Linked DNA regions of Homo sapiens: all the other regions are linked to region 6. Evidence: promoter capture Hi-C in 16 types of primary human blood cells and fetal thymus (Javierre and others, 2016). All regions are on one chromosome and are shown on one strand. Each heading gives the region's core, a stretch centred on a gene start or on the middle of the fragment in contact. The rest is flanking DNA. Distances are from core to core; before and after follow the strand shown.

The links. The method cuts DNA at HindIII sites, captures the fragments that hold promoters and counts their contacts. A CHiCAGO score of 5 or more calls a contact.
Region 1: a fragment that was not itself captured here is called in contact with the fragment with the promoter of KCTD21 in region 6 in 2 of 17 cell types (fetal thymus and activated CD4 T cells); the score reaches 6.5 in fetal thymus.
Region 2: a contact is called between the fragment with the promoter of NARS2 here and the fragment with the promoter of KCTD21 in region 6, in 17 of 17 cell types (fetal thymus, total B cells, neutrophils and 14 more). The highest score is 35.7, in fetal thymus.
Region 3: a fragment that was not itself captured here is called in contact with the fragment with the promoter of KCTD21 in region 6 in 3 of 17 cell types (monocytes, neutrophils and naive B cells); the score reaches 7.3 in monocytes.
Region 4: a fragment that was not itself captured here is called in contact with the fragment with the promoter of KCTD21 in region 6 in 9 of 17 cell types (total B cells, naive B cells, neutrophils and 6 more); the score reaches 13.0 in total B cells.
Region 5: a contact is called between a fragment that was not itself captured here and the fragment with the promoter of KCTD21 in region 6, in 10 of 17 cell types (neutrophils, naive B cells, total CD4 T cells and 7 more). The highest score is 14.8, in neutrophils.
Region 7: a fragment that was not itself captured here is called in contact with the fragment with the promoter of KCTD21 in region 6 in 3 of 17 cell types (naive B cells, neutrophils and monocytes); the score reaches 7.2 in naive B cells.

What each region holds. Positions count from the first base shown.
Region 1 is chr11:77,809,987-77,812,686 of GRCh38, reverse strand. The region is part of intron 1 of RSF1 (remodeling and spacing factor 1); the gene reads left to right. Among named protein-coding and RNA genes, the nearest start is that of RSF1, 9.4 kb to the left of the region's middle. The HindIII fragment of the contact is 1,997 bases long and covers 285-2,281 here.
Region 2 is chr11:78,573,451-78,576,150 of GRCh38, reverse strand. NARS2 (asparaginyl-tRNA synthetase 2, mitochondrial) reads left to right here and starts at 1,287. Exons shown (of 14, transcript NM_024678.6): 1 at 1,287-1,803. The coding sequence starts at 1,663. RefSeq lists enhancers at 992-1,131, 1,792-1,901. The HindIII fragment of the contact is 10,208 bases long and covers 1-2,700 here.
Region 3 is chr11:78,590,868-78,593,567 of GRCh38, reverse strand. No RefSeq gene overlaps it. Among named protein-coding and RNA genes, the nearest start is that of NARS2, 17 kb to the right of the region's middle. The HindIII fragment of the contact is 7,888 bases long and covers 1-2,700 here.
Region 4 is chr11:78,539,975-78,542,755 of GRCh38, reverse strand. The region is part of intron 5 of NARS2 (asparaginyl-tRNA synthetase 2, mitochondrial); the gene reads left to right. All of the region lies in intron 1 of NARS2-AS1 (NARS2 antisense RNA 1), which reads right to left. Among named protein-coding and RNA genes, the nearest start is that of NARS2-AS1, 8.2 kb to the right of the region's middle. The HindIII fragment of the contact is 285 bases long and covers 1,265-1,549 here.
Region 5 is chr11:78,467,730-78,470,460 of GRCh38, reverse strand. NARS2 (asparaginyl-tRNA synthetase 2, mitochondrial) reads left to right here. Exons shown (of 14, transcript NM_024678.6): 10 at 1,148-1,214. Among named protein-coding and RNA genes, the nearest start is that of LINC02728, 39 kb to the right of the region's middle. The HindIII fragment of the contact is 4,339 bases long and covers 1-2,731 here.
Region 6 is chr11:78,187,359-78,190,101 of GRCh38, reverse strand. It overlaps KCTD21 (potassium channel tetramerization domain containing 21), which reads left to right and starts at 1,476. Exons shown (of 2, transcript NM_001029859.3): 1 at 1,476-1,529. USP35 (ubiquitin specific peptidase 35) reads right to left here and starts at 1,183. Exons shown (of 11, transcript NM_020798.4): 1 at 945-1,183. RefSeq lists silencers at 830-989, 1,420-1,759. The HindIII fragment of the contact is 4,363 bases long and covers 447-2,743 here.
Region 7 is chr11:78,521,343-78,524,131 of GRCh38, reverse strand. All of the region lies in intron 6 of NARS2 (asparaginyl-tRNA synthetase 2, mitochondrial), which reads left to right. Among named protein-coding and RNA genes, the nearest start is that of NARS2-AS1, 10 kb to the left of the region's middle. The HindIII fragment of the contact is 7,149 bases long and covers 1-2,789 here.

The sequences.
Region 1 (2,700 bases), core at 34-2,533, 380 kb after region 6:
CAAAAACTCCTGACCTCAAGTGATCTGCCTGCCCCGGCCTCCCAAAGTGCTGGGATTACAGGCATGAGCCACCACATCCAGCCCAAACTGATTTTAAGAAAGAAGAGCATGAGGGCAAAACTTGACAGCAGACAGACCAGGCTTCAGCCTCCTGTAGTTGAACAAGGATTGCTTGAAGAGCAACATGAAGTATATAATGTATATATGGCTCATGTAAGCAAGAGTTCCTCCAGAAAGCTTTCGTAGTGGAGGTTGAGTCTGTATTTAATTTTAGACTCTAAGCTTTATTCTCCAGTATTTGTACATGTTTATCTTAATCATTTTCTGAATAGTAGGATTATACAGTTTTTTCCCTTTGGTTTTTCTTATATTTTTTCACATTTCATTTTCTATGTTAATTGTGCATTTCTTTGATAATCACCAAAAAACTATTTAAAACTAGATTTCTAAAGAGGCTTTTTAAAAGGAAAATTGAATTTCTGCTTGTATTTATGTACTCTTATTTTTATAGACAGGGTCTCACTCTGTCACCCAGGCTGGAGTGCAGTGGCTTGTTCTCTGCTGACTGCAACCTCTACCTCCCAGACTCAGGCGATCCTCCCATTTCAGCCTCTCAAGTTGCTGGGGACTACAGGCATGTGCCACCACACCCAGCTAAAAATTTTTTGTATTTTTAGTAGAGACAGAGTTTCATTATGTTGCCCAGGCTGGTCTCAAACTCCTGGGCTCAAGCAATCCACCTGACTCAGCCTCCCCAAGTGCTGGGATTACAGGCGTGAGCCACCAAGCTCAGCCTATTTATTTATTCTTAATCTTGAATTACCTCTTAAATGAATGTTACTATCATCTACCCAAGTCACTCAGATCAGAAACCAAGGAGGCATCCTAGACCTTAGCCTCTGACACTTTCTTTGATACCAAGTTATATTGAGTCTGTTTATCCCCTTTTATATTCAACCTTGCTTTTCTGTTCTCATTGCTAGTTTTAATCACGCCAAACTGCTTTTACATCTCTGAAGATGTGAAAGGTTGTTTTACATTTATGCTTTTTCTTCGTCCTCCTGCCTCTGAGTCGAATATACCATCCCCATCTTCCTTCCCTTGCCTGCTCACTGTACCCGTCATTAGTCTGCTCTTTAAGCATCAAATGCTCTGTGGAAAATTTCCTTCTTTCTGTCTCTCAAGTTAAATTAACCACTTCAATCTCCTTACCCTGCACGTACACTTTGTAGATTTTATGCCACAGTACTCATAACACTTTTTGCAGTTACTGCCTAGCCTACAAGATGGTAAACTCTTTGAGGACAGGGTTTCTTACTTTATTTTATCACCAGCAATTGGTGGGTAATAGCAAATATGTAGTAAATGTTTGTGGAATTAATAGTTTTCCTCAACTTACTATAGGACCATGTTCTGCTCTAAAACTTTGAAGTTAAAGCCTAGTCTGTGATAGCTTAGTACAGTGGTGGGCAATCTACAGCCTGTCCTCTCTATCTTTGTAAATAAGGTTTTACTGGTATACAGCCATGTTCATTTGTTTACATTCTGTTGTCTGTAGCTGCTTTCACACAACTGTGGCAGAGTTGAGTGATGGTCACAGAGAACATATAACTTCAAAACCTAAAGTATTGGGCTGGGTATGGTGGCTCATACTGCAATCCAAGCACTTTCGGAGGATTGTCTGAGTCCCAGAGGTTGAGGCTGATCATGCCACTGCACTCCAGCCTGGGTGAAACAGCAAGACCCTGTCTCAGAAAAAAACAAAACCCAAAACCTGAAGAACTTATTATCTGTCTAGCCCTTTACAGAAAAAAATTTACTGATCTTTATTCCAGTGTATGAAGATGGAAGTCTTATCAGATGATGATCTCTGTTTTTGAAAATACATTTAGAACCAGTATAATACAAATTTCCAGCCTCGCCAACATGGTGAAACCTGGTCTCTATTAAAAATACAAATTAGTTGGATGTGGTGGGATACACCTGTAATCCCAGCTACCTAGGAGGCTGCCACACAACAATTGCTTGAACCCAGGAGGCAGAGATTACAGTGAGCCATGATTATGCCATTGCACTCCAATCTGGGCAACAGAGGGAGACTCCACCCATCTCCCCCCCAAAAAATAAAAATAAAAAGGAACCAATATAATACAAATTAAATGCCTAGAATGTCCTGTGAATGAAACTTAGTGGAACAGTAGTCTCCCCAGTATTGATCTAATTTTACATCCAACTGTTTTAGTATTAATTACTCCTCTTGGGTTAGGTGAGTCTAAAAGCTTTTTTGTTAACAAGGTGATGACATTATATTGAACTAAATTTCTTTCATTCAAGAGTAGCCATGGCTACCTCTGCCTAATTGTCATAAGGCAATGCCAGGATGGGAGCCATGTGACATGGTAATTGGTAGTGAGGGTAAGAGTTGTTGTAACATTGCTGCTATACTGGCCTCAAAGTCTTATCCAAGTGGACTGATTAGGGGAGGGTAAGGTTGGATGAATGGTGATGCCGTGTACTCAGATGGGAAAGGATGTAGTTATTAAAGGTAGAACTTAAAAGATTTACTTAGGTTACTTAGAGGACACAGGACTGGGAAAGAATGTACTAGATAATAGCTTACTAGTAAGTGGGATTAAATGCCTTGGTCATCAGTGTATTTTGCAGCAAAAGTGCAGTACTGGTTATGAAGCTTAGGCATGT
Region 2 (2,700 bases), core at 38-2,537, 390 kb before region 6:
TGTATTATATTTTATCCAATATAATATTTGGATAAAATATCAAAAATAATTTTTTGGATAAATTTAAGAGGTAGCCTAATATATAAGGGTGACTTTTCAGTCCAAACAAATGCAGACAACTCATACATCTATGTGTGCACTTACTGGTTTATATTTCAGTAGTCTCTTTTCTTGCTTGTCTCCATCTCTAAAGCATGAGCTCCTTGATGGAACAGATCACCTTGGGACACTATGTAATACAGCATACTGCTTAAGTGCATAGAGCCAGCACTTCTGGGTTTAAATCTCACACTTAGGGAATGTGTATCCTTAAGTAGGTCATCTAGCCTTTCTGTGCGTAAGTTCTCTCATTTGTAAAATGGGTATAATAATAGTAGCAACTTTAAGTAAGGTAAAAGTGAGAGAGAGAGAGTGAGAGTGAGAGGGAGCGGGAGAGAGACAGCGAGGGCGAGCGCTGGTCTTGAACTCCTGGGCTGAAGCAATCCTCCTGCTTCTGCCTCCCTAAGAGTTGGGATTACAGGCGTGAGCCACCGCACTTGGCCAAACGTTTTACTTTTTAAATTAGATTAAAAACCTTTTAATGACCGTCATTGAGTTACAGAATTTTTTTTTTAATAAAACGTAGCCTAATATATAAAAGGGTCATTGTTTCCAGGTCAAACAAATGCAGATAGCTGTGTTGGAGGGCAGAGGGAAGAGGGAGACTTGGAGGATTCTGGCAGGAAACACTCGAGTTTCCTCCAGTCTCTGCAACATCTTCCCACCGTCTTGCCTGCCATATGCAAGGTCCCTCCAGTTCCTTTTATTTACCTGTCAGAGGACTACTTTCTCCAGGAAGCCATCTCTGGCGTCCCACGCTTAGGCTCTGTCAGGCAAACTGATCGCCCTTTTATGCAACTGTCTGTTTAGCTGTCTGATACCACACAACTGTGACTTGCGCATTGGGGCTATGTCTGATTTTTCTCTGCGGAGTACTCAGGAAAGGAACGACTGATCTCTTCAAGCGAATCCTGTTAACAGCTAAGAGCCTCCTCTTACTTGGATCCCTATTGTTGACTGATGGAGACGGTTTCCCTCTCCATCAGTCACTCCTTGCCTCTCAGTTTCTCAGCCTCACCTGGAAACTTTAGAAATGAAGACCCTCAGATGTGCTCCCACGTTCTTTCAGCGATAATCTCTACAACCTTAGGGCATTAGCTCCGCCCCGTCTCGGCTCCTGACCCCGCCCCCTCCCGCACGCCTCCCTAAGCCTGGGTCACAAGTACGCATGCTCTCCCTTCTTCCCCGTAGCGTGATGACGTAAGCGGCGTTGGCGTGGTGTGGTAGGAGTGGTTGCGCGTGTTGCGGCCCGGGTTCTGTTCGTAGGTTTACAATTGTCGCGGGTAGTGGGGCGCCCCAGCTGCCAACTGCACGTGGTTTCTTTCTGGCGTTTGCCTAGTGTCCTGTCCATTCCGCCCCGTTGGGAAGTGGGAAGCGGAGAGGTTCTGTGGGGACAGAGCTGGGAGTCCTGAAGGAGAAAGCGCGCAGCCGAGGGGCTCTGGAGTGCCTTAGAGCAGAGCTGCGGCCGCGGAAGGGGAGCAGCTGAGAAAGGAGGGCCGCTGCAGGCGGGGTTCGAACCGTGGGGTCTGGGCTGCTCCCGCGGAGGGCCTGGGCGGACGCGGGATGCTGGGGGTCCGCTGCCTGCTGCGGTCCGTGCGCTTCTGTTCCTCCGCCCCCTTCCCCAAGCACAAACCTTCAGCCAAACTGAGCGTGCGGGACGCTCTCGGGGCTCAGAACGCGAGTGGGGAGCGCATTAAGATCCAGGTTGGTGAATGGGAAGGGAGTGGGTTTTTTCTTGTAGGGACTTTTATATGGCACATCCACATCTAGCTTTTCTTTTACAGTCGGGTCAGACACAACCGCCAGCAGGGAAAAGTTAGAAAGTGTAGGCGTCGCGGGTTTGCACTTTTCTGATTTCCATTACTTTTCACAAAACTGTTCCGATAACTGTAAAGCGCTGGAACTTTGCTTTCATGATTCCAGGGTATTACCTGTAAACTTGTTAATCATACCAAAAGTGTAAATGAACAAGCCCCCTTTCTCTATCTTTATCCCTTATAATGAATATCCAGGTTTATAAAGTGGTTGTCTTGACCTCCCTCCTTGAGAGCAGAAACCGTGTCTTACCTGCCTTTGTATTCACACATGGCTGACAGCAAATACTTGTTCAAACCATGCCTTTTAAACTTTTAGCGACCTCAGTGCCTATTGTGGGGGTCTGCATGTAATTTATTTTTAATGAATTCGGAGAAAGACTGGAATGTAGCAGTTTGAAAGAGCTCTGGAGTTAAGCTGCTTAGGTTTAAATCTCTGCATAGCGTTTATGCGTTCTACACCTTATTTTCCTCTTATGGAAAGAGATAATAATTGTCCCTGAGTCCTGAAAATTAAATGAGGTAATGGAAGTAAGATATTTAGAACAGTGGCTCATAGTCTACAAATGTTAGCTGCTATTGTTTCTCTTGCTGATTATATTATTTGCAGCAGCTCCACATAGAAGAGGTGCAGAATAAACAAGGTGTTTGACTGTTTCTTATTAGGTTGCTGAAGTACACTGATGTGGTTATTTATTTTTTGAGACAGGGTCTAGCTCTGTCACCCAGACTGGAGCGCAGTGATGTGATCTCAGATGACTACAACCTCCATCTCCCAGGCTCAAGC
Region 3 (2,700 bases), core at 67-2,566, 400 kb before region 6:
CTGGAGGCTCTGTGTGGACAAGTTTGAAAGTTAAAAACTCCAGGGCATGTGGCCAGTCATACTGGATTTTACCTCCACTTTCGTGAGTTTTACCTCCAAGAACCCTACCAGGTTCTCAGGGTGAAGATCAGCAAAAAAAAAAAAAACAAAAAAAAAATCCTCATGCTTCTGGCAAGAGGAGGGGAAAAATAGCCATTCGAAATATGCCAAAGTGTCCAGCTCTTCTTAACAAAGCCTGCTCTCAATGGAAACTATGTTATCAGAGGCTAGCTGACTGGATTTTACCAGAGACTAATCACAGGAGAAGGAAAATACCCAACTCCAGCCCCTTTTTGCCAACTAAAGCGGGAAAGAACTGAGAAGCGCTTGTGAAAGGTGCAGCCCAGGAGCACAGGCTCGCTAAAGTCTAAGACCTAATCACAGGTCTATAGAATTCTTCCTCTCTCTCCACACCTCACCACTATATCAACAGGACTTATCTGTATGATAATAAGGGAGTACAACAGAAATAACTGCATGTTATTTCTGAGACCTCCCAAGAAGTCTCTAGGGAAATCCAAAGATAACAGGTGAGACAAAAACAAGGACACCGGAGGAAATTTTTGCCTCTGACTCCCACAGCTACAACAAACAGTAAACACAGCCTAACTTCTAACTAGATAAATAAGATAAATATACAACTTCCCACTGAAGACTTATTTACAGGCCGGGTGTGGTGGCTCACACCTGTAATCCTAGCACTTTGGGAGGCCAAGGAGGGTGGATCACTTGAGGTCAGGAGTTTGAGACCAGCCTGGCCAACATGGTGAAATCCCATCTCTACTAAAAATACAAAAATTAGCCCAGGTGTGATGGCTCGTGCCTGTAGTTCCAGCTACTTGGGAGACTGAGGCTGGAGAATCACCTGAACCCAGGAGGCGGAGGTTGCAGTGTGCCGAGATCACGCCTCTGCGCTTCGGCCTGGGTAACAGACCGAGACTCCATCTCAAAATAAATAAATAAATAAATGAAAATAAAGATGTATTTACCTCAGTTCCTTTTATCCACTACATTGTGTCCAACTTTCAACAAAAAAATTAAAGATAAAGATTAAAAAAAATAAAATTACAAGATAAACTAAAAGACAAAAAAAAAAACACAGTTTGAAGAGACAGAGCAAGCATTAGAATCAGACTCAGATATGGCAGAGATGTTAGAATTATTAGACCAGGAATTTAAAACAATGGTGATTAATATGCTAAGGGCTCTAATGGAAAAATCAGATCTTTCTTATCACCAGACAAACATGCTATTATTTCTCACATATTAAAGAAGTCCGCTTTCATGACCACATTCTTCCACCAGTTACCACCTCAGTTTTTCTGCTCCCCTTACAACAAAACTTCTTGAAAACCCTGTCTCCAATTTCTCTTCTCCCATTCTTTTTTACATACCATTTTTATTATAGAAAAATCTCCAACATGAATAGTACAATGAATTCCTGTGTATGTTACCCAACTTCAATATTTTTCAACATTTTACCAGTCCTATTTCATCTATTCCATCTATACTGTTTTATTTTTTTTCTGAAATATCTAAAACCAAATTCTAGATATCACATTTCACCCATAAATTCTTTAGGATTGTATCTTTAACAGCGAAGAATTTTGTGCATAATTCCTCAATATCAACTAATATTAGGAATTAAAGGACGTCATTACAGATCCTACAGACACTGAAAGAATAATATGAACAATTTTATGCCAAGAAATTTAGCTGCTTAGATAAATTTCTCAAAACATACAACTTACAAAAACTGACGGAAAAAGAAATACAAAATCTGCACAACATCATATTTATTAAACATGTTAAATCTGTAATTCAAAACCGTCTCATAGGCCGAGTGCAGTGGCCCATGCCTATAATCTCAGAACTCTGGAAGACTGAGGAGAGGGGATTGCTTGAGCCCAGAAGTTCAAGACCAGCATGGGGAACATAGCAAGACCTTGTCTCTAAAATAATTAATTAATTTAATTTAATTTAACTTTCTCATGAAGGAAGCTCTAGGCCCACATGACTACACAATGAATTATATTCAAACACTTAAAAAGGAAATAATATCAATCTTAGAGAAACTCAAAAAATAATACTCTGTGCTGTTGAACTATTTTTATGTCTTTAAAAAATATATCTTTTCTCTGTTGACTTAAGTCATAATCCAAGTAAGCATTCATGCATTACATTTGATTGCTATGTGTTTTATTTTTCCTTTAATCCATAATGTCTCCTCTCTTTTTTTTGAGATGGAGTCTCGCTCTGTCGCCCAGGCTGGAGTGCAGTGGCATGATCTTGGCTCACTGTAACCTCCGTCTCCTGGGTTCAAGCGATTCTCCCACCTCAGCCTTGCAAGTAGCTGGAATCACAGGCACGTGCCACCATGCCCAGCTAATTTTTGTATTTTTAGTAGAGATGGGGTATCACCATCTTGGCCAGGCTGGTCTAGAACTCCTGACCTCAAGTGATTCACCGGCCTTGGCCTCACAAAGTGCTGGGATTACAGGCGTGAGCCACCACGCCCAGCCTCTCTTAGCCATTTTCAAGTACACAGTACATTATTATTAGCTGTAGTCACCATTTTTACAATAGATCACCCGAACTTACTTGTGTCTAACTAAAACTTTGTACCTTTTTATCAGCATCTCCCCATTCCTCATAACCAGA
Region 4 (2,781 bases), core at 158-2,657, 350 kb before region 6:
AGCTAATTTTTAAAGTAGAGTCAGGGTCTCACTATGTTGCTCAGGCTGGTCTTGAACTCCTGGTCTCAAGCAATCCTCCTGCCTCCACCCCACCGAAGTGCTGGGATTTATAAGTATTTATTGAGTACCTGCTGTGTTTAGTGGTAGTCAAGTCCTTTGTGTGGATACGTGGTTTGGAGACTTAACTCTGGAGCATAGGTATCCCTTCTCACAGAAGTCCTAGTTAACGGACTAGGACCATATCTTATCATATTCATCCTTAAAGCCCCAATCTGACAATGAATAAGCCAAAATTAATATTTTTCAAGCAATAGTGAAAAAAAGTTTGGTTCATTTTTCACCGACCCCTTTACATTTAGGAATAAGTTTGCTGTTTTGCAATTTTACATTTGTGTTTATCTCCTGTAAAAGAAAAATAAGGCAGCATTGTATATTCACTTTCTGTTTTGCCTCAACCTTACCCTCTAATATTAGACTCCACGCGTCTTTTCTTGATTCATTCTTTCTCAGACTGCTCAGCAGGAAAACACTGTTTACAAACAGTCTGACTTAATAACTTCCTTTCCTGCTGATCAAATAGTTGTTTAAATGAAACCTTTCTCAGGGCTGAGTGGGTGTTCTAGTTAGTGGGTGTTCTGGAATGTAAATGAACCCTTATTTTAAGAAAGATTATTTTTATACTAGCAGTTCTGTGTACACCAAGATACACATTTGTAGCAAGTGGAAAGTATGGAAACATAAACTGGACTTATTGGAAATTTTTAGATTAGTGAAAGACCTACATATATGGCTTGTTAATAGGCAAATCCCAAAACTAACATAACCGGCAAAATAGAATGCAGTTTATTGAGCCTGTTTCCCTTGGCTTTGGTTTTTACGTATGAGATGCAGTCTAATGGCATGCAGAACAATTTCTGCAGCAATGATAGCAACTGCATTTGAGATACAGCTTGATAGGGATCATGAAACTACCAACCCACAAATCTTTGGAGACTGTATGACAGATTTAGTTCCTATGATTGATTGCTTGGTTGGTTGATTGATTTTAGAGGCAGAGTCTTACTCTCTCACCTAGGCTGGAGTGCAGTGGTATGATCATAACTCATTGACCTCAAACTCCTGGACTCAAGTGATCCTCCTGCCTCAGCCTCCCGAGTAGCTGGAATTACAGGCACCCTCCACTACACCTGGCTTGTTTTATGTTATATGATCAGCATTTCATACTTAGGAGAGACTAATATTAAAAGCATTTTAATCCAAAGCTTTATTTCAACACTACAGGATAAAAAATGCGAGAGCTGGGCACAGTGGTATATGCCTGTAGTCCCATCGGAAGGCAGAGGTGAGAGGATCACTTGAGCCCAGGAGTTCAAGACCAGCCTGGGCGACATAGCAAGACCTTATCTCAAAAAAAAAAAAAAAGTGACATGACTTATTGGAAAGGTGATTGTACTAGAAGCTGAGAAACCTGGATTCTACAACTGATCTTACCAAAAAGTAGTTGTATATAACATTTATTCTAACATTTGACATTTAACATTTTTAAGCTTTAGCATCTTTTACAAGAGGGAAGTTGAATTAAAATTTTTTTTTTTGAGATGGAGTTTCACTGTTGTCACTCAGGCTGGAGTACAATAGTACTAGTTTCAGCTCACAACAACCTCTGCCTCCCAGAGTCAAGCAATTCTCATGACTGAGCCTCCCAAGTAGCTGGGAATACAGGCGTGCGCCACCACGCCTGGCTAATTTTTGTATTTTTAGTAGAGATGGGGTTTCACCATGTTGACCAGGCTGGTCTCGAACTCCTGACCTCAGGTGATGCGCCTACCTTGGCCTCCCAAAGTGCTGGGATTACAGGCGTGAAAAAATTAAAGTTTTATCTAACTTAGATTTTTTTATTCTTTACTATCTGTATCGTGAAAGGCATAGCCTCCCTCTAATCTCTTAATTGGGATCAAGAAAGAAAATAGGATATTCAGTGGTTATATGGAGCTTACAGATGGTGAGTACTCTCCCTTTTCTTCATGATCTTCAAAGGAAATTGCAGATTGAGGTAAACAGGACAATAGCATGCCATTATGATTTTAAACCTTTTAAATTTCTGAACCATGCTTCATCTTTATGTATTCTCTTCCCAACTTTTTGTCTCTGGGATTATGAGTAAATAGAACTGGGTAAAAGGTGGGGGTAGGGTACAAAGTAGAAAATGGAAAAAGTAAAAGGAGATAAAAATAGATTGGGTGTTTCAGTGATTGTAGAGGTCAAATAAGTTTTCCATTGTTGATTATATTCCTTTCCACTGTTCAGCTTACTGCTATTTACTCTCGCTCCTTGCTATATATTTTACATGGAGACAGAGTCGGACTTGTGTGGGTTTTTCTATTTAATTCTCCTGAGATTGTGAAACTGCTCAGCTAAATTTGTTCTGCTGTGAGAACAAATAACTGGAGGGCAATTCAAAATACTTGTTTAATATTTTCTTGGAAATCCTCAAAGAAACAGGGAGGATTTTAGATCCGTGTGGTAAGAAATTCACTGGGATACACACATTAAAAAAATTTTTTTGGTAGCTCTTGGTTTCCCCTTTCTTGGCTGTGCTATTTACTGTCTTCCAGTGGCAGAATAACCTAGCAAAAATTTTTGTTTTGCATAATAGAGAAAGGCTAGGTTAAGTTTTATTGCACTAACGTAAGTTTTATATGATCAGGGAAAGGTTAGTCTATCATGGACTGTTTAGGATGGGAGGTAATCATCCTTTATATTGATTTTCAAACATTTTTG
Region 5 (2,731 bases), core at 85-2,584, 280 kb before region 6:
TTATTTACATTATCTGTATAAATAAAATCCTCTAGAGGGATGTTCACAATACCAATAACAGTGATTGTGTGAAAGGAAAGGAACTAGGTTTCTCTGGAACCGCAATGGAAGGGAGATGTATACTCTTATACATCTTGATTTTTTTTAAAACTATGTAGACAAGTTACCTATTCACATAGTTAAATTAAAACAAATACTTGCTTTGACTTACTTTAGGCATGAGGGTGTCTCATGGAGAGAATCAGTATTTTCCTACATAGTCTTATAATGCTTAGAATATATTACCAGGCCCTTACTATGACCTGAAAGAGTCCATGTGATCTGACTTCTGACTGCCTTTCCTATGTAATTTCCTGTGCATTCTTCCTCTTGTTCAGTATGCTCTAGTCACGCTGACTGCCCTTTTTGTTCTGTGAACAAGCCAAACTGTTTCTCACTTCAGGTCCTTGTACTTGCTGTTCCTTTTGCCTGGAATACTCCTCCCAAGATACTTCTATGGTTCATTTCCTTACTCGGTGCACGCTTCTGTTCAAATGTCACAAACTTAGGCCTTTCTTGACCATCATATCTAAAATGGCACCCCAAACCCCCTCTGCCTTCTTATTCCACTTTATTTTTCTTCATAGCACGAATAGCTACTTGTTTATTTATCTGTCTACTCTCTCCTCACCTGCATCTCTCGCTCTCTCTCTCTCTGACACACACATGCGCGCACGCACATTGTCTCCATGAAGGCTGAGCTTTATTTTTATCTCCAGTGCCTAGAATTGTGTGTAGTGCCTAGTAGGTGCCAAGTATATGTCTGTTGGATAAATAAATGAATTAATGGTGAATTTTAGGAAAAAGTATTTTGCTGTTGTAGTCTTTTAATAGGGCATTGGCATATCATGGATTCAGAGAATAATCTTTACTTGCTTAAGTGACTAGCTTCACTGTGTATATTGCAAGTAGATGAGGAGTTGAGGTTATTGAATGGTTACTTGTCTTCAGGCAGATCATTCTTTCATAGGATTAGATCAGCCTTAATTCCTGATTATTCATGACCTCACAGTGTGATATAGGAGTACGCTTTTTCTGGTTTTAAAATGAACTAGTTAGCAGCTCCATTGTATTGACTTTTCTCTGCTTGTATCCTGTTTTCCTCCAGCATTTCTTATACTGAAGCAGTGGAGATCTTAAAGCAAGCATCCCAGAACTTCACCTTTACCCCAGAGGTAGTATTTTGTGTGTATGTATATATGTGTGTGTGAAAATGCTTCCTTCTTGTCTTTAGCTTACTGTGTTAAGAATCTTTCAAAATCATCTTAATTCTCTTATTAGCAAAATATGGCATTTGCTCATTTGTACACAGACTTAAGATTTTGATGTTTGCTGAATCTTGTTGAGATACTTAAAACGGAATTAATTAAGAATAAAAATAAATTTTATCATTTGGAATAGCAGTGACTAAAGGGTTATAAAGGAGTCTCCCACGTTTAGGAAGATGAAAATTCTAAAAAAGAAAGATAATCATAGACTATTACTGTAGAGACCAGGTGTTGGGGCTCACGCCTATAATTCCAGCACTTTGGGAGGCCAAGGCAGGCAGATTGCTTGAGCCCCAAAGTTCAAGACCAGCCTGGGCAATACAGTGAGACCCTGTCTCTACCCAAAAAAAAAAAAAAAAAAGTGAATTTTTAAAAAAAGAATATTACTGTAAAAGTCAACTAGTTCTGTGTTTTCCAAAATATATTCTGAATGACATTAAAAGATGACCAGGCTGGGTGCGGTGGCTCACACCTGTAATCCCAGTACTTTGGGAGGCTGAGGCGGGTGGATCACAAGGTCAGGAGATCGAGACCATCCTGGCTAACATGGTGAAACCCCGTCTCTACTAAAAATACAAAAAATTAGCTGGGTGAGGTGGCGGGCGCCTGTAGTCCCAGCTACTCAGGAGGCTGAGGCAGGAGAATGGCATGAACCCGGGGGGCAGAGTCTGCAGTGAGCAGAGATCACCACTGCATTCCAGCCTCGGCAACAGCGAGACTCCATCTCAAAAAAAAAAAAAAAGATGACCAACAAAAGAAGTTATATTATCAAATAAGTTTAGGCAACATAACTAAACAGGTGTGTTTTTCTTTTTCTTTTTTTTCTTTTTTTTTTTTTTTTTTCAGATTTAGTGCTTGCAGAAGCAGGTTTGTTTTTCAGTTGAACTTTACGGAGCCTTTTAGTTTATGAGCCACTCTGGAAAATACTGGGGTTTTTTTGTTTGTTTTGCTTTTAAAGAACTTTATATTTAAGAGATGGAGGTCTCGTTATGATGCCTGAGCTCATCTTGAACTCCTAGGCTCAAGGGATCCGCCACTTCAGCCTGCCAAGTAACTGGGACTAGAGGAGCATGCCTCAGTACCCAGCCAAGAATTCTTTTTTTTTTTTTTTTTTCAATACTTACTTGATAAACAAAGATTGTATAGGCCGGGTGTGGTAGTTCACACCTGTAATCCCAACACTTTAAGAGGCCAAGGTAGGATTGCTTGAGCCCAGGAGTTTAAAATTGCAGTGAGCCATGATCGACTACAGCCCTCCAGCCTAGGTGACAGAGAAAGACCTTGTCTCGAAGAACAACAACAAAAGAAGATTGTATATATTCAGGGTATACGACATGATGATTTGATACATGTATACATTGTGTAACAGATTATCATAATCAAATTAGTTAACACATCTGTCATTACCCACACTGTACATTAGA
Region 6 (2,743 bases), core at 227-2,726:
GAGCTGAGGAGCACATTTCCTCCCCTCTCTGACCCTCGAAGCCAGCCTCCCTCCTTTGACTCCCCTGGGAGCCAGAGCTTCCTTGGGGGTACCAGGCTGCCCCTCCCGACACCAGGTGGTGCCCTCCATCTCTGGCCCCTCAGGTGTCTGAATGGCAGCATCTCTCTAGGTATTTTTTAACTGAACTTCTACCCAAGGCAACCCTGGGAAGAAGTGCTTCACCCTACTCCGGGAGGCCCATGTCTGGGCCACCAAACTGTCTCCTGGAAAGAAAAAGAAAAAAGGGTTTCACTGGTAAAAAGCAGCTGCTCTTCCTCAAAGGATAAGGAGGAGAGAGAAGGGAAGAAAGCAGGAGCAGCTATTCCTCCTCAGGAACCCACCACACACACCTATCCCTGCGGGGCCACCCCTCACAAACCTGTGAGGGCCGCACTCCACCCCAAGCTTTCTGGAAGGAAGGGCACCAAGCTGACACATCAGGGTCTCCGGTTTGCAAGGGCCAGGGCCGTAAGAGGGGGTTGGGGAGGGTATCCCAGGGCCCAGCACACTGAGAATAGGAAAAGCCCATTCCAAGCAATGGTGGCCTCGGGCCCCCCAGTTTGTGCCACCTCCCTCCCTCCAGTGCACCCGCGCCCAGCCCACGCTTGAGCTGGAGGGCCCCACGAAAAGCCAGCAAGCGAATGTACTAGGTACTGGGTGCGAATGCCCTCTTACCTGAAAGGGGAGGGAGCAGGATCACTTCGACATACAATTGATGAAGGGAGGGGATTAATGCCCAGAGAGGAATAGCTACTCGCCCAAGGTCACACAGTGAGGCCCAGGAGGCCCAGGATGCACCCAGATCTCCCGACTCCCAGCCCTGGGCTCGCAAGTCCAGGGTTCTCGAAAGGCCAGGGTGCAGACACCGCCCCCCAAAGACAGTCACACGCCCCCAACCCCCTTACCTCCCGGACCCCGGTGGGCCAGAGCCGGCTGCTGGGCGGGGCGCTCAGGCCGGGCAGGACGAGGCTGGGCCCGGCTAGGTCAGGGCTGGTCCTCTGCTCCCCCCAGGGTGGGGACGCCCTCAGCCAGGTCCCAGACGGAAGAGATGCTGCTTCCACTGCAAAATCCAGTCTTCCCACCCCGCCTGGCACAAGCCTCTATGTATCCAGGAAGCCCGACTCTGCGGCGCGGCCCCGGGGCTGCGGGATGAAGCATGGGGAGGGGCGAGGTGCGTGAAATGGGGCGGAGCCGGAGCGGGGGCCACCCCGCGAGCTGCCACTCTGACCGCGTCCCCTTTAAGGCCAGCCGGCCGGACACCGGCGGGGACGAGGCGGGGCGCAGAGCAACTCGCTGCAATGCCTCCTGGGAGATGGAGTTCGCTCTCGACGCGCCGAGCTGCGAGGAGCCCAGAGAGAACTACCAGTCCCGGAAGGCAGCGCACAGACCCCGGACCGCCACGCCCCTGGGCTGGGCTCCTACCCTCCGCCCCCCTCGCAAAGCTGCGCTGGCCGCTCGCGGAGGGAGAGGCTGCAGAGCGAGGGCAGGAGGTGGGTGCGGCACGGCCGGGGTCGCGGGGCTCGGGGACTACCGGCGAGGGTACGTGGGCCCACTGAGCACCTGTCTTACCATGAGACTAATCTATCCCAGCCTCGCCATTCCCATCTGTGAAATGGGGATGGCATCGCCTGTGGTGCGGGGGAGGGGGCGCGTTTCGGAGCGAGGTGAGCCGAAGTGGGCAGAGCTCTTAGAGGGGCGGGGCTGTTGGGAGAGCAAGGGCGGATGGTGATAGTCGGAAAAGCCCGGATAATGAGGGTCGGGACTGTGGGAGGAGTCCTTGGTGGGTGGGGCAAGGAGAGGCGGGATCTCTAGGTGGGGGTGGGGCACTTGTCAGGTCGGAGTGGGGGCTGTAGGGCTGGGGAGTGGGTGCGGAACAAGCCGATGAGGCCAGCCTGGGTGAGATTGGGGAAGGAAGGGCGGAGACACAGATGACAGGGAACTTGCCCCGCTCTGGAGAGCCCTGGGCCGGCCGCGCTGTGGCGGCGTGGGCAAAAGCCTGTGATGCATAGAACACCTCCCTTTACTGACTGGAAATAAAGAGTCCATCCCCGAGTTCAGTGCGGCACACCAGTGATCTCATTGACCTCCCACGCCCTGAAAAGTAGAGGCGTCACTATAGCGGTTGACAGGTGAGGAATGTGAGGCTCAGAAAAGCGAAGGGACTTGCCTAAAACCACTCAGGACTCCTTACTTCAAAGACCTTGCTTTTCTCCCTGCACTCGGGGAGGCAGAGGTTTAGCTTGGCGTGGGAGGCAGGAAAGAAAAGTTTTGATGCCCCGACCTTCGCAAATTGTCTGGCAGGACCAGTCCCCCCAACCCTTCCGAATGACAGCCTGTAAGGCAGCCCTCCTATAGTACTGTGAGGATGAAATGAGATGGATTTGAAAGCACGGTGTTTATAAATTACTGTTTGGAGGAGACATAGGAAGAGAGCGGTTTGAAATGGGGTGCTGGTGCCGGAGGAAAAGCACAAGGTGAAGCGTGAGAGTGAGCCGAGAAGGTGAAGGAAAGTTCTGGAAGGGGCTGGGGGATGGTAGTGGTTGTTGGAGGTCTACGCCAGATGAAAGAATACCTTGCCGTGCCAGATTCCGTGGTCTCCTTCTTCCAGCCCACCTTTCTCTCCTCCTGCCTTTTGCGCAGCTCATTCTGGGGTCCCTGTGTCTAGGAAGCACCTTTTCTCTCCTCCCTATGGGTTGTGATGGTA
Region 7 (2,789 bases), core at 170-2,669, 330 kb before region 6:
ATATTTTAAAGCCATCTTGTAGTTAATACACAGAAGTATAAATAAAGGGACAGTGAAGATCAACTTTATTAGAAATTTTCAGGAGAATTTAAACATAGCAAGTCAAAAAAATTAAATTGTTATATTGAGAGAGAACGTATATGCCCTAAAATTCACCAATTTGAAGTGTGCAATTCAGTGGGTTTTAGCATATTTTGAAGATATTCAAGTATCACTGACATAATTTTAGAATACTTTCCAATATTTATAATTTTAAGGTTTTATCACTCCCAAAAGACAAATTTTTTCCATTAGCATTCACTCCCTATCCTCTTCTTTGCCCCCACCCCTGGGCAACCACTAATTAAGTTCTCTCTCTATGAGTTTACCTATTCTGGAATATTTATCGTATATAGATAGAATCACACAGTAAATTGTATTTTGTGACTGGTTTATTTCATTTAGCAAATGTTTTCAAAGTTCATCCAACTTGCAGCATGTATCAGTACTTCATTCCTTTTTATTCCCAAATAGCATTCCATTACATGGGCATATAATATTTTGCTTCATTTATCAGATAATGAGCATTTGGGTTGTTTCTACTTTTGGCTCTTGTAAGTAATGTTGCTGTGAACATTTGGGTGGAAGTTTTTGTGTGGACATGTTGTCATTTCTCTTTGGTAGATACCTAGGAGCGAAATTAATGGGTCATGCAGTAACTATGTTTAACTGTGTGAGGAATTGCTAGTCTGTTTTCCACAGAGGCTGGACCATTTTACAGTCCCACCAGCAATAGCAAAAGCATTCCAGTTTCTCCACATCCTTGCAAATGCTTATTATTGTCTTTTTATTGTAGCTGTTCTGACAAATGTAAAGTAGTATCTCATTATGGTTTTGACTTGCATTCCCCTGACTACTAATGATGGGTTTTCATCATTAAAGTCAATGAGCACATGAAAAGGTGTGGAGCGTCTTTCCATGTGCCTGTTGGCCATTTGTATGTATTTTATTTGGAGAAATGTCTATGTAAGTCCTTGAGTTATTTTTAAAATTGGATTGTCTTTTTATTGAGTTTTGAGAGTTCTTTATATATTCTGCATACAAGTCCTTTATTAAATATATGATTTGCAAATATTTTTTCCCTGTTTGGTGGATTTTCTTTTCACATCCTTGATGTTGGCAAACTCAGATTTTCATTTTCACTTTTCTGGGTTTTGAAAGTACTCCAGATGGGCATAGCCTATTGAATTCAGCAAACTGCTGAATACTGCCATGCATGAACCTGGAACATATGCTGTCCTTTGAATACTGATTCCAGATTTTTAATACATCTTTAATAGGCTCTAACTTATTATTACTTCTGAAACTTATACTTACATTATAAAAAAAATGCTTTTGAGTATTTTGTCCCCTTATAATTTTGTTGAAGGAAGAGTGGCCATCTTTTTTGCCCCATAATTGCAAAACATTTTTATTTTTAGATTGTACACCAATTAGAATGATCAAATTAATGAATTCTTCTGTTTCTACATCATCTTTTTTTTTCCTAAACACCTTTATAAAATACTTGCTTCAGCATTTGTTCACTTATTAACCTTAGTAAGTAAATTTTGGTGTACAAATATCATAAATGATGAAGGAATATTGCCACATATCCTTTTAGAAAATGGGATGGTCCAAATTCTTATAAATTATTACATAATGAAATCCTTCTTGTGGAATGACTCATTGGATGGAAGTACTGAATTTGTTTTTTGACTTGAAATGTATTTTTCACTTAACAGTTCTTATGTTTGAGAAAATTCACTTAGATAGGTATCATTATCTGAAAGCTCTTTGTCTGAGATTTCACTTACACAACCAATTTTACCATCATCATTAGAGAGTAGATTGTCAACCAGGCACAGTGGCTCATGCCTATAATCCCAGTGCTTTGGGAGGCTGAGGTGGAAGGATCACTTGAGACCAGAAGTTTGAGACCAGCTTGGGCAACACACGAAACCTTATCTCTACCAAAAAAAAAAAAAAAAAAATTAGCTGGATGTAGTGGCACATACCAGTATTCCAAACTACTTGCGATGCTAAGGCAGGAGGGCGCTTAAGCCCAGGAGATTGAGGCTGCAGTAAGCTATGATTATGCCACTGCACTCCAGCATGGGCAACAAAAAGGGGAGGAGATTGTTGCTGCCTCTTTGCATTCATGTTCTGATTTGTCTAATAACTATGAAATACCTTTATCATTTTAATTCTCTTTGTTAGTGTGAGTGAAAAATAAAGATCTGAATTCTGAACTGTGATCTGCAAAAACTACAAAAAGGCTACAACCATGTATCCGGGCTTTTCTTTTTTTTTTTTTTTTTTTTGAGACGGAGTCTCGCTCTGTCGCCCAGGCTGGAGTGCAGTGGCGGGATCTCGGCTCACTGCAAGCTCCGCCTCCCGGGTTCACGCCATTCTCCTGCCTCAGCCTCCCAAGTAGCTGGGACTACAGGCACCCGCCACTACGCCCGGCTAATTTTTTGTATGTTTAGTAGAGGCGAGGTTTCACCATTTTAGCCGGGATGGTCTCGATCTCCTGACCTCGTGATCCGCTCGCCTCGGCCTCCCAAAGTGCTGGGATTACAGGCGTGAGCCACCGCGCCCGGCCCCGGGCTTTTCTTATACCTTCTTTAAAGATGACACAGGCCTGGCGCAGTGGCTTAAGCCTGCAATCTCAACACTTTGAGAGGCTGAGGCAGGAGGATCACTTGAAGCCACTAGTTCAAGACCATCCTAGGCAACATAGTGGGACCTAGTCTCTACAAACAAACAAA